Linked DNA regions of Homo sapiens: all the other regions are linked to region 3. Evidence: promoter capture Hi-C in 16 types of primary human blood cells and fetal thymus (Javierre and others, 2016). All regions are on one chromosome and are shown on one strand. The core of a region is centred on a gene start or on the middle of the fragment in contact, and the rest is flanking DNA. Distances in the headings are between cores, read along the strand shown. Region 1 overlaps SPEN (spen family transcriptional repressor). Region 2 overlaps SPEN (spen family transcriptional repressor). Region 3 holds the start of HSPB7 (heat shock protein family B (small) member 7). Region 4 overlaps SPEN (spen family transcriptional repressor).

Region 1 (2,700 bases), core at 102-2,601, 120 kb before region 3:
CCTTACACTAGAGTATGAGTAAGCAATATTGTATATATTTTACTTACTACTTGTTTAAAAATTATAAAATGGTTTTGTCTATAAAGTAGTGACCTTGGTTTTGAATGGTGAAGTTAATATTGTAAAAAAGTTGTTTATACTTTACCTTTTTATCAGGTTGTCCAAAATCAAGTGACACCAGAGTGTTTTAGATCTCAGCTTCTTCTTGAGGAAGTTTGATTTTCAGAAGTTTACATTTTTTTCTTACAATTCAAAGATTTTTATGAAATGATACATTAGTAATGAGGAAGAATAATCAATGTTAAGGATCCTGCGTTTGGATTGCAGCTTGAAATTAGCATGTTGGTTTTTCAAAAGATGGGAAAGCAGTCCAAGAAATAATACAGGCCAGGGTTTCTCAGTCTTGGCACTATTCACATTTGAGACCAGAGAACTCTTTGTTGGGACTTTCCTGTGCACTGTAGGGTACTTGGTAGATGCCAGTAACCCTACCCCACCCCACCCCCACTGTGACAACAAAAATGTTGTAGAACCCTGCTAAAACTAGTAGGGTCCTTGAAAGATCATGAGGTCTGCTAACCGCTAGGGAAATTCAAGTTAAGAGAGGCAAAATGAAGTGTCTTGGCAGGTCACTCAGTTGATTATTTCCTTGTTATTTTTTGGAGTAAAAAAAAAATAGAGGCTTGAGTCAGGTGTGGTGGTGTATGCATGTAGTTCCAGCTTCTTCTAGGGTGACTGAGACGGGAGGACGTTTGAGCCCAGGAGTTTGAGGCCAGCCTGGGCAACATAGTAATACCTCGTCCCTTAAAAAAAAAAAAGGTGTAGGGGCGGCTGAGGCAGCAGAATTGCTAGAACCTGGGAGGCAGGGGTTTCAGTGAGCCAAGATTGCGCCGCTGTACTCCAGCCTGAGCGAAAGAGTAGAGACTCTGTCTGGTAAAAAAAAATAAAAAAATAAAAAATAAAAATAAAAAAAAAATAGGCTGGGCGTGGTGGCTCATGCCTGTAATGAGCCAGGAGGCCGAGGTCAGCAGATTGCTTGAGCTCAGAAGTTCGAGACCACCCTAGACAACATGGCAAGACCCTGTCTCTACTAAAAATGCAAACAAAAAAAATAGCTGGGCGTGGTGGTTCATACGTGTGGTCTGTGGTCCCAGCTACCCAGAAGGCTGAGTTGGGGGGATCATTTGAACCTGGGGATCGGAAGTTGCAGTGAGCCGAGATCACGCCACTGCACTCCAGCCTGGGTGACAAAGTGAGACTCCATCTCAAAAAAAAAAAAAAAAAAAACACCAACAAAAGAGGCTTAAATTCAGATTACATCAGAAGTGGTGGAGTTGAAAATGGTAATGGTGTCACATCAGACTGCTGAACTGTTTTTAAAACTTTCTAGGCTTGACTTTACATTTTAAAATTATTGGGCTTTCATTTATTGTGGACAGTATCTATTGACATTTGCCGTATTGAAATTTAAACTTTAAAATTTTTATTTTAGTGAGAATGACGTTTTATTTTTTGAAAACCTTTTATTTTTTACTTATTTATTTAGTTTTTTTTTTTTTTTTTTTTGAGACAGTCTTACTCTGTCACCCAGGCTAGAATGCAGTGGCATGATTTCGGCTCGCTGCAACCTCCACTTCCCAGGTTCAAACGATTCTCATGCCTTAGCCTCCCAAGTAGCTGGGACTACAGGCATGTGCCACCACGCCCCGCTAATATTTGTATTTTTAGCAGAGTTAGGGTTTCGCCATGTTGGCCAGGCTGATCTCAAACTCCTGACCTCAAGTGATCTTCCTGCCTCAGCCTCCCAAAGTGCTGGGATTACAGGCGTGAGCCACTGTGCCCGGCCTGAAAATCTTTTAAACGTCTGGTTTAGTAAGATAGTTAGATTCTCATAACCAATTCTGTATTCAAACTGTGATTATAAGGTTTTTTGGGTGAAGTATATGAAGAAAATTTGGCCTCACACAGATACACAGTTGAAATAGGGAAGGTCTCACAGATCTCCTAAAAGGATTTTGGGTCCTCACAGGTCCTCTTACACTTAGATAACTGCTGCACTAGAAAGATACAATTTGGACTTATAAAAAAAATGAGATGTGGAAGTATTATTACTTGCTGTGGTGATGCATTCTGTTTAAGAGATTATGGGCCAGGAATGGTGGCTCACGCCTATAATCTGCACTTTTGGAGGCCGAGGTGGGAAGGTCGTTTGAGCCCAGGAATTGGAGATCAGCCTGGGCAACAAAGTAAGACCCCGTCTCTACAAAAAATAAAATAAATAAAAGTTAAAATAAAATAGATGATTATTCTAATAGAAATTAGATAAGGACCAGTGGGCACCCAAACCTGATTGAAAATCTTTTCTTTTGACCCCAAATTATATATTGATTATATGGAGAGAAAAATTATTAGCTACCTGATGGTTAGGGAGATACCTGGTTATGACAAATGGGCCCTCTAACTATGTTAGTTGCAGTGTTTTCTAATTGCCCTAATCGCTCCTTTCTGAAAATATTGGTTTATGCCAGAGTTTTGTTTCTCAACTTAATTTGGTTAAATGTCTTTTAGTCTTCCAGCTTTAAAAAAAAAACCAGTATAGATGCATATTTGCCGTAAGTGAATGTTTACAAATAATAGAGGGATACAGAAGTCAGTAACTGGATGTCACTCTTGTACGTTAACAAATATATCCCTGAGTCA
Region 2 (2,700 bases), core at 183-2,682, 78 kb before region 3:
GGCACGCACCACCATGGCACCACCATGCCCAGCTAATTTTTTGTATTTTTAGTAGAGATGGGGTTTCACCATGTTGGCCAGGCCAGCCTTGAACTCCTGACCTCAAGTGATCTGGCTGCCTTGGCCTCCCAAAGTGCTGGGATTACAGGCCTGAGCCACTGTGCCTGGCCAGTAACGGTATTCTTGAAGTGAGCAATGAAGGGTCCACTATGCTTCTACTTGGTGGGGGGATGTAAAGTACCTCTAGACCCAGAAACAAGGCTTTACAGTTTTTAAAAATTATTATTTTTTAAATCAGCTTTCTCAGGTTGAAAAAAAGCTTTTTTTTTTTTTTTTTTTCATTCAAATATCAGGGTAGCCTTTAAAGTCATCTCAGAGGTGGGGGTTTTTGTGGACCTGATACTGTGGGTTGGATGTGGGCTGCTGTTTGACTAGGAGGCCCCTGCTCACTGGCAGCTGGCCTCTGCCTCAGGTGGAGACAGATTACTGTCTGCTGCTGGCTCTGCCCTGTGGCCGTGACCAAGAGGATGTTGTGAGCCAGACCGAGTCCCTCAAGGCTGCCTTCATCACTTACCTGCAGGCCAAGCAGGCGGCAGGGATCATCAACGTTCCCAACCCTGGCTCCAATCAGGTCGGTTGTCCTGTGTCCTTCCTTCACATGTACACCCACAGGTGGGGCTGATCAGGGTAGGTGGGCCTACTCATCTGGTGCCCACTAGATCTGGCCCCAGAGGTGGGCAAAGGGGCATTTTGGACAGAAGTCAGTAGAGCACATGGGGCGGGGCGCCATCACCCATCCTGAAGAGAACCCAGGGAACCGCTGAGAACACAGGTTTTCCATGAGTTTAAAGATAGGGCCCCAGGGGGTTCCTGTTTATAGTTTTCTGACACCTGCTAGGTCTTCCAGTAGACATAGTCCTGGCACATTTGCTGGTTGGGGACTGATTTGGCCTGGCTCTTAGCATTGGGCCTCTTCAGGGCTCCCCAATGGAAGTGGAGTTGTGGGGGTGAAGACAGACGGTCCCACTTTGCTCTCTATCCTGTCTCCAGCCTGCCTACGTGCTGCAGATCTTCCCGCCCTGTGAGTTCTCTGAGAGTCACCTGTCCCGCCTGGCCCCTGACCTCCTTGCCAGCATCTCCAACATCTCTCCCCACCTCATGATTGTCATTGCCTCCGTGTGAGCCACTGAGTGGTTATCACCTCAGTGAATCTTCCCAGGGCTCTGCAGTAAAAACAAAGGACAACCCAGCCAAGCAGAGGAAGAAGCTGCCGAAGGGGACAGACTCCACTGCCAGACGGCCAGCCGTTTGCTGTCCTGCCGCCCGGCTCAGTCGGCCAGACTTCCTCTAGGAGTGGTGCTGCTACCTTGTATGTTTACATAATGCTTTAGCCCAAGGACACATCACCAACCCATGGACTCGCAGACACCGGGGCTGGGTTTCTCTTTCCTCTTTTTGGAGAAAAGGAACAGGGCAGTGGAATGAAAATTTTTTGTTTGTTTGTTTTTAAGAAACAAGAAAACAGAACTGCCTTTGCACTAAATTAGTGACTTGGACTTTTGCCCAGTGAAGACAGGCTGTGACACTCTGGATGTCTTGGTGTGTGTAGACACACATTGCAGACTCTTAACGCAGGAAGGACTTCAAACTTCTGCTGAGACCTTGGGGTCAAGGAACATTTCATTGGTTTTTTTTGTCCACCCCCATCTCCCTTGCTCATTTGGATGCGTCACCTTAATTCTCCTGCTGCCACCGTCTTTGATTCACCGGGATGTACAGTTTACAGTTGAAGAGCAAACAGAAAGGTTTTCTCTTGGTGGGATATGCAGAACTTGGGATGTGTGTATATATAAATATATAATATATATAAATATATATAATACTGACTTAAAAAATCAAATCCCCCGACATACGTTTTTTTTAATCTGTGCCAAAAATGTGTTTTCAGAGGAAATCTTATTTTCATATTCAGACTTTGTATTGCCCACTCATTTGTATAAGTGCGCTTCGGTACAGCACGGGTCCTGCTCCCGCGATGTGGAAGTGTCACACGGCACCTGTACAAAAAGACTGGCTAACCCCTCTTCCTATTACCTTGATCTCTTCCCCCAACTTCCTAACACTTATTAATTTATGAAACTGTTTTTCTCAGCGCAGTTTTGTTTTGTGTGTCCATTGGATTACAAACTTTATTAAAAAATATAAAACACACCAAGTGTGAGTGTGATTGTCACTTGGGTGGGAGGACGAACCATGGGTCCTTGGCTTATGGGAACAGTCAGCCCTCATCCCGCTTTTGATCCCCATGCCAAGTCTGTACATGGGAACTGTTTCCCTTCTGCCTCCTAGTCAGTCAGTCCTCCTCCCCAAGGATAATTTTATCTTGTACAAAGGAGATTTTTGTCACGGACACTGAACTTAACCATTTCTCACTCTTGTGGTGTCTTCAGAGTCCTAACTGGTTCTTAGGTAATGTGGAAGGAAGGCACTTCCAATTTTGATACAGAATATAACCACACCCCATGCCATCTCAGAAACATTTTAGCAAGCTTTGGTTTCTTGTCTCTCTCTTGCCCCCTCTTCCCTTCTCCCAGTGTGAAGCAGGCTGACTCCTGCAGAGGCAGTGGCCTCCTGGGGCCCCTGGGGGCTCATTTGATCCCGTCTCTGCCTCCAGACAGGAGAATGGGAGTTGGGGACAGG
Region 3 (2,700 bases), core at 194-2,693:
TGGGTCTCCAGCTGTGGGAGGGAAGAGGGCTTGAGGTGGGTCACATGGAGAAACCCCTCCCCCCACTGCCCAGGTGAGTTCCCCACCTACCCGCATCCGCCCCCCTATAGCTACCAGAGGAGCTGTCCTCACTCTGCCATCACCATCTCACACCTGTCATCTCCCACCCTCAAGCCCCACCCCCTCAGGCTCCCTCTGCCCACATCCCTCCATCCCTCTCCCATTCCTCGGAGGCTCCCTCAGCTGCTCAGGCCCTGGAAGAAAGGATCTGGGAACCTCGGTGCAAAGAGAGGCAGTGAGGGGGCCCCATGGCCATGGGTTGCAGGGACAAGGCCTTCAGTTAGCCCTGGGGGAGTTTGGGTGGGGAAGGGACACTGGCCAGGGTCTGGGGTCCCAGGATGGTAAGGGGGAGTAGGAGACATTGGAGGCAGGAGCAGAATTTGGGATGCGGTGAGTAGGGGGTGGGGGGCTCACCTTCTCAGCCCGCACCTCGATGTGGTTGTTGGAGGTGGTGACAATGATGTCTTCAGGTGAGAAGTCTCTCACGTCCACCGCAAACTCATAGGCGTCTCCTAGGGTCTTGATGTTGCCTGCCCCACCGGGGCGGGCTGTGGGATGGGCTGCTGTGAGCGAGGCATGGAGCAGGCCTTGCATGCAGATCCGGGGGTTCTGGCTCCTTCTCTTGGGGCAAGGGGCGGCTCCCCCAGGCCCTACCTCCCCCCTAGCTGTTTCTCCCTAAGCTCCTCCTCATTCCTACAGCCCACCTTTTCTGGGGTGGGGGTGGGGCCTCACCCAGCACAGTGTGTGTGTATATGAGGCTAGGTCTGTAACAACCCCACCCCAGGCCTGGAGCCTGGGGGCTGCCCCCCACCGCTCACCCATCCAGCCCTCCAGGGCTCCAGCTGGGATTGGCTGTGGTTACAGAGCATGGGTGGCCATGGAACCATGTCCAACCCCCAGGGCCACAACTGTTCCTTAGAGGCCCACCTGTTTTCATGGCCACATCTGTCCCTGTGGCCACATCTGTCTTGGTGGCCACACATGGCTGCAGGCTGTGCAGCACCTGTTCCAGGCCGACCGGCAGCCACAGCGCCTTCGGTGGCGCCCTGGAGCAGACGTCCCCTCCCTGTGCACCTCCCCTCCCCTCAGGGCCCGGATCACTTGCCTGGGAAGGCCAGGGGCTCCGAGTGGGGCCGCATGAAGCTGCCAAAGTCATCGGAAAACATGCTCAGGGCCTTCTCCATGGGCGGGTCCTGGGCCGGGAGAGCACGGGAGGCCGAGGAGGAGGTGGAAGAGGAGGAGGAAGAGGAAGAGGAATGGAAACTTCTCTCCGCTCGGAAGGTGGAAGAGGTTCTGTGGCTCATCCACGGACGGCGCCGGGCCCTGCCCAGGCGGGCGAGGGCTGGACAGGAGAGGGTGTGGGCGCAGGCCTCTGGGCGAGCGTGCCAGGCTCCGACTGCGGCCGCTTTATAAGGCCGACTGTCCCTGGGCTTGGGGCCAGCCCCTTGTCTACTAGCTAAATTTAGGCCTCTCCATGGCCCAGAGGGGGCTGGAAATCTTCTCCCGTGCGCCGGCCCTGCTGACAGCCCGACACGCAGGCCGAGAGGGCTGAGCTCACAGCCTGACATTCCAGGCTGATCACAGCAGCCCCAGGGGCCTCCTCACCACTGCACAGGGCTGGATCCTGTCTCCTTGCCACTCGGACCTCGGTGCCTGCCCCAGAACCTTGCAAGTTTGGGGTTTATTGTGTGTTTTGTTTCCCCCGTCAGCCTGGGGGCTCCTGAGGACTGTGCCTCCCCTCCAGACTCTGGTTCTCCTCCACGGCTGTACCTCCTCCATCAGTGTGCAGGCTCCTTGGGGACAGGGTAGGTGGAAGCACCACCGCTCTGTGACGTCAGGAGCTCCTTCCCTCAAGGCAGACAACCTTCACAGCCCATCTCTAAGGAAAGGTTGAGCCCTGCCAGGGGGTGTAAAATGTGCAGCTGTCCCCTGCCAGCCCCCATGGGGACCTGGATTCTGTGCCTGCACTCCCTCTGACTCTCAGAACATTCAGCAGCCCCAAGAGGACAAAGTTGGCAGCTTTCTCCTTAAAGGTCTAGAAGGTTGTGTTCCCGGCAACTGTCTGCTCCATCTCTGTGTCAGAGGTGATGCCTGCGAGCGCCTTAGGTGGGATTTCAGTCAGAGGTAAAAGAGAATTCCGGAAGACAATTATTCTAGCCCTGAGTTCTAGAATGCCTTCTGGGCATGGGCTCCTGGCTGCAAGCTGTCCAGCACGGCCCCGTTTGATCCCCACACAGCTGGGAGGGTGGAGGGGCTCTTCCCATGTTACGGACGGGGAAGCGAAGCCTCTTGGAAAGGGCGGGGCTCGCAGTTGCGTAAGTGGCAGAGCTGGGATTCGAACCTAGATGTGTTGGACCCAAAGCCCTTCAGAGGCCGAGGTGGTTTGAACATGTGCCTATGGAGACAGGCTGGCCCGGAAGAGCCAGAGAAGCCCCTCCCTACCCACCTGCTTGCTCAGCAAAGCTGGGACTGACCTTGCCCTGGGCCAGGGTGGAGGCCATTCTGAGAGGCGGCCAGGCCCTCTGCTCTGCCCAGGTTGCAGTTAAGGGCCTCTGCTGTCCTCTCCAAATCCGTCCCTTCCGTCCCAGATCAGCTCCAATGCCTCCTCCCCCAGGGAGGCCTCTCTGACTGCTCCTGCTC
Region 4 (2,700 bases), core at 58-2,557, 96 kb before region 3:
GCATCACACTTTTTTTTTTAATAGAATAAAATATATAAAAATATATTTTTTCTCATCCGTGTCCTTGTGGCTTAGGATTTTGTTGGGACTGACACTAAGTCCAGTGGATGAGGCTCTTACTTGTTTTTTGTTTGTTTGTTTTACAGGTGGTGTTTGACCGCTTAAAAGGCATGGCCCTGGTTCTCTACAATGAAATTGAATATGCACAAGCAGCTGTAAAAGAGACCAAAGGGAGGAAAATCGGTGGGAATAAAATTAAGGTGTGCAGAATGACTTTAAACAGAAGCAAAACAAAGTCCTATTCAAATCTCACCCTCTTGGGCTGGGCGTGGTGGCTCACGCCTGTAATCCCAGCACTTTGGGAGGCCAAGGCAGGTGGATCACCTGAGGTCAGGAGTTCGAGACCAGCCTGATGAACATGGTGAAACCACGTCTCTACTAAAAATACAAGAAAAATTAGCCGGGCTTGGTGGCGCGTGCCTGTTAATCCCAGCTACTTGGGAGGCTGAGGCAGGAGAATTGCTTGAACCCAGGAGGCGGAGGTTGCAGTGTGCTGAGATCATGCCGTTGCACTCCAGCCTGGGTGACAGAGTAAGACTCCATCTCCAAAAAAAAGAAATCACCCCGTTAATAACTAGCATTTTGTAGGCTGCCAGCCAGGGGAGTGGTTTACAAGACACGTATGCTGTATCATTAGTGTTTAAGGGGAATATTACAATTTTATGCTCAGCTACTTGTGGGCACAGCATCTTTAAACCATTAGCCACAGATCCTTCCCTAAAAATCTTCTCATTCAAAGAAGTGTGCTTCTCAGTGTTCGGGTGCTGATGCTCACACAGACACTCTCATCGCAGGCTTGACCACAGTTATGGGTATCTGACACCCAGGGCCTCATAGTATCAGTCCAGCATCCTGAATGATATGTCTTTCTTTCCTTTCCTACTCTCCTGAAGAGTGGGTAGCCACTTAAAGCATAACTTTATGTCCAGTGTATGTTTTTAAAAACTTGTATTCATGGTAGTTTGAAGGAATTTATGCACTTAACTATGAAATAACTATGATTGTTAGGTTGAAAAAAGTATTTTAAAAATAAGATGATAAGCTATTTGATAGCTGATGAGCATCATATGCTTTAGTAACTTTGAGGCCCAGCTGTGAATAAAGTTTAAAATGTTCATCCATATTTTGTTTTATATTCTAACTGTAGTTTTGGCAACAGAGATTGCTGGATTTAGTTGATCTGATTACTTAATTGCCATTTCAGTTTTCCATTTTGCTTTTTTCACTCCTTCACAATTGGGTTTGAAACTTTATAAATTTCATTCTTTTATCACGGTTTATACAGAATTTGAGAGATTTCAGGTTAATATAGTTTCAGTGATGAGGACTGTTTTACTTGAGATACATTGCTGTTTCCTGAAATTTTCTCAGAAGGGCTATGTTGTGAAGAATTTACAAATCTGATAACATTTTTCCATCATTAAAATTTGAAACTTGCATCAAACACCTCTTTTTTTTTTTAAAGGTGGATTTTGCAAATCGGGAAAGTCAGCTGGCTTTTTATCACTGCATGGAGAAATCTGGTCAAGACATCAGAGACTTTTATGAAATGTTAGCCGAAAGAAGGTATGTATTTTAAACTTACCAGTGTAGCTTGAGTTTTAATAGTTTTAATACAGAAACTTAAGATGGCATTAAATTTTATTTTTCACTCTTTACCCCTACTTTCATCTTCTAGAATAGAGAATGCTTCTCTTTTATCACTTCATATGGAAACACAGGTTTATTTTTTTGAATCTAGTTTCCAGGTAATTCCTATGGGTTTGGAGCAACCTGTCTGGATTTCTCACTGAATGCTCCTAGAACTTGAAAGAGTTACTGTTTTGCCAGGTGATAACTTTATGTACTTTTTTTTTTGAGACAGGGTCTCACTCTGTCACCCAGACTGGAGTGCAGTGGCATGATCATGGCTCACTGCAGTCTCTGCCTTATAGGCTCAAGTGATCCTCACACATCATCTTCTTGATTAGCTGGGACTACAGACACTTGCCACCACGCTGGAGTAATTTTTGTAAAGATGGGTTTTCTCCATGTTGTCTAGGCTGGTCTTGAACTCCTGGGCTCAAGCATTCTGCCCGCTTTGGCCTCCCAAAGCGCTGGGATTACAGGTGTGAGCCACCACACCTGGTCTGCTTTATGTACCATTAATCATAAATACAAATCATCTTGCTTACAGTTACTTCTTAAAGTAAATGTATTAATATATGTTAGAGTGCATTATAAACTTTTAAATGGCTACATATTTAGTAATGACAACAACCAGGTTGTATGTGCTCATACATTTAACTTAAAAAATAAATAAATAAATAAAAACTTCCAAAAGAATATCAAGAGCTTTATTTTAAAGTTGAATCTCTTAAATAGTCAAAGTGAATCAATAAGCCAAAGCATATGTAAACTGGCAACTTTGGCAATGTGCAGGGCAAACCTGATTTCCTCTTGTTAATACTTTCAGTCATGGTTATGTAGTATTTAATATTTTTTCTGCTGAACAGACCGAAATATAGTAAAACATCTTAAGATAATGCCACCAGATTCTTCAATAGCTGATTACTTTTGAAAATGGAAATTTGGTCCATATTATCAAGCTGTTTTTCCAGACATACCTCTGATTAAGTTTCCTGGAATGTTCCCACTAGG

Evidence for each region. The method cuts DNA at HindIII sites, captures the fragments that hold promoters and counts their contacts. A CHiCAGO score of 5 or more calls a contact.
Region 1: a contact is called between a fragment that was not itself captured here and the fragment with the promoter of HSPB7 in region 3, in 1 of 17 cell types (activated CD4 T cells). The highest score is 5.5, in activated CD4 T cells.
Region 2: a contact is called between a fragment that was not itself captured here and the fragment with the promoter of HSPB7 in region 3, in 1 of 17 cell types (activated CD4 T cells). The highest score is 5.4, in activated CD4 T cells.
Region 4: a fragment that was not itself captured here is called in contact with the fragment with the promoter of HSPB7 in region 3 in 1 of 17 cell types (activated CD4 T cells); the score reaches 6.0 in activated CD4 T cells.

Annotation. Positions count from the first base shown.
Region 1 is chr1:15,900,383-15,903,082 of GRCh38, forward strand. All of the region lies in intron 3 of SPEN (spen family transcriptional repressor), which reads left to right. Among named protein-coding and RNA genes, the nearest start is that of SPEN-AS1, 54 kb to the left of the region's middle. The HindIII fragment of the contact is 9,385 bases long and covers 1-2,700 here.
Region 2 is chr1:15,938,246-15,940,945 of GRCh38, forward strand. It overlaps SPEN (spen family transcriptional repressor), which reads left to right. Exons shown (of 15, transcript NM_015001.3): 14 at 473-631; 15 at 1,051-2,211. The coding sequence ends at 1,182. Among named protein-coding and RNA genes, the nearest start is that of ZBTB17, 37 kb to the right of the region's middle. The HindIII fragment of the contact is 2,230 bases long and covers 318-2,547 here.
Region 3 is chr1:16,016,600-16,019,299 of GRCh38, forward strand. It overlaps HSPB7 (heat shock protein family B (small) member 7), which reads right to left and starts at 1,444. Exons shown (of 3, transcript NM_014424.5): 1 at 1,166-1,444; 2 at 475-608. The coding sequence starts at 1,364. RefSeq lists enhancers at 246-992, 993-1,737. The HindIII fragment of the contact is 15,911 bases long and covers 1-2,700 here.
Region 4 is chr1:15,920,724-15,923,423 of GRCh38, forward strand. It overlaps SPEN (spen family transcriptional repressor), which reads left to right. Exons shown (of 15, transcript NM_015001.3): 9 at 147-260; 10 at 1,526-1,626. Among named protein-coding and RNA genes, the nearest start is that of ZBTB17, 54 kb to the right of the region's middle. The HindIII fragment of the contact is 4,084 bases long and covers 1-2,700 here.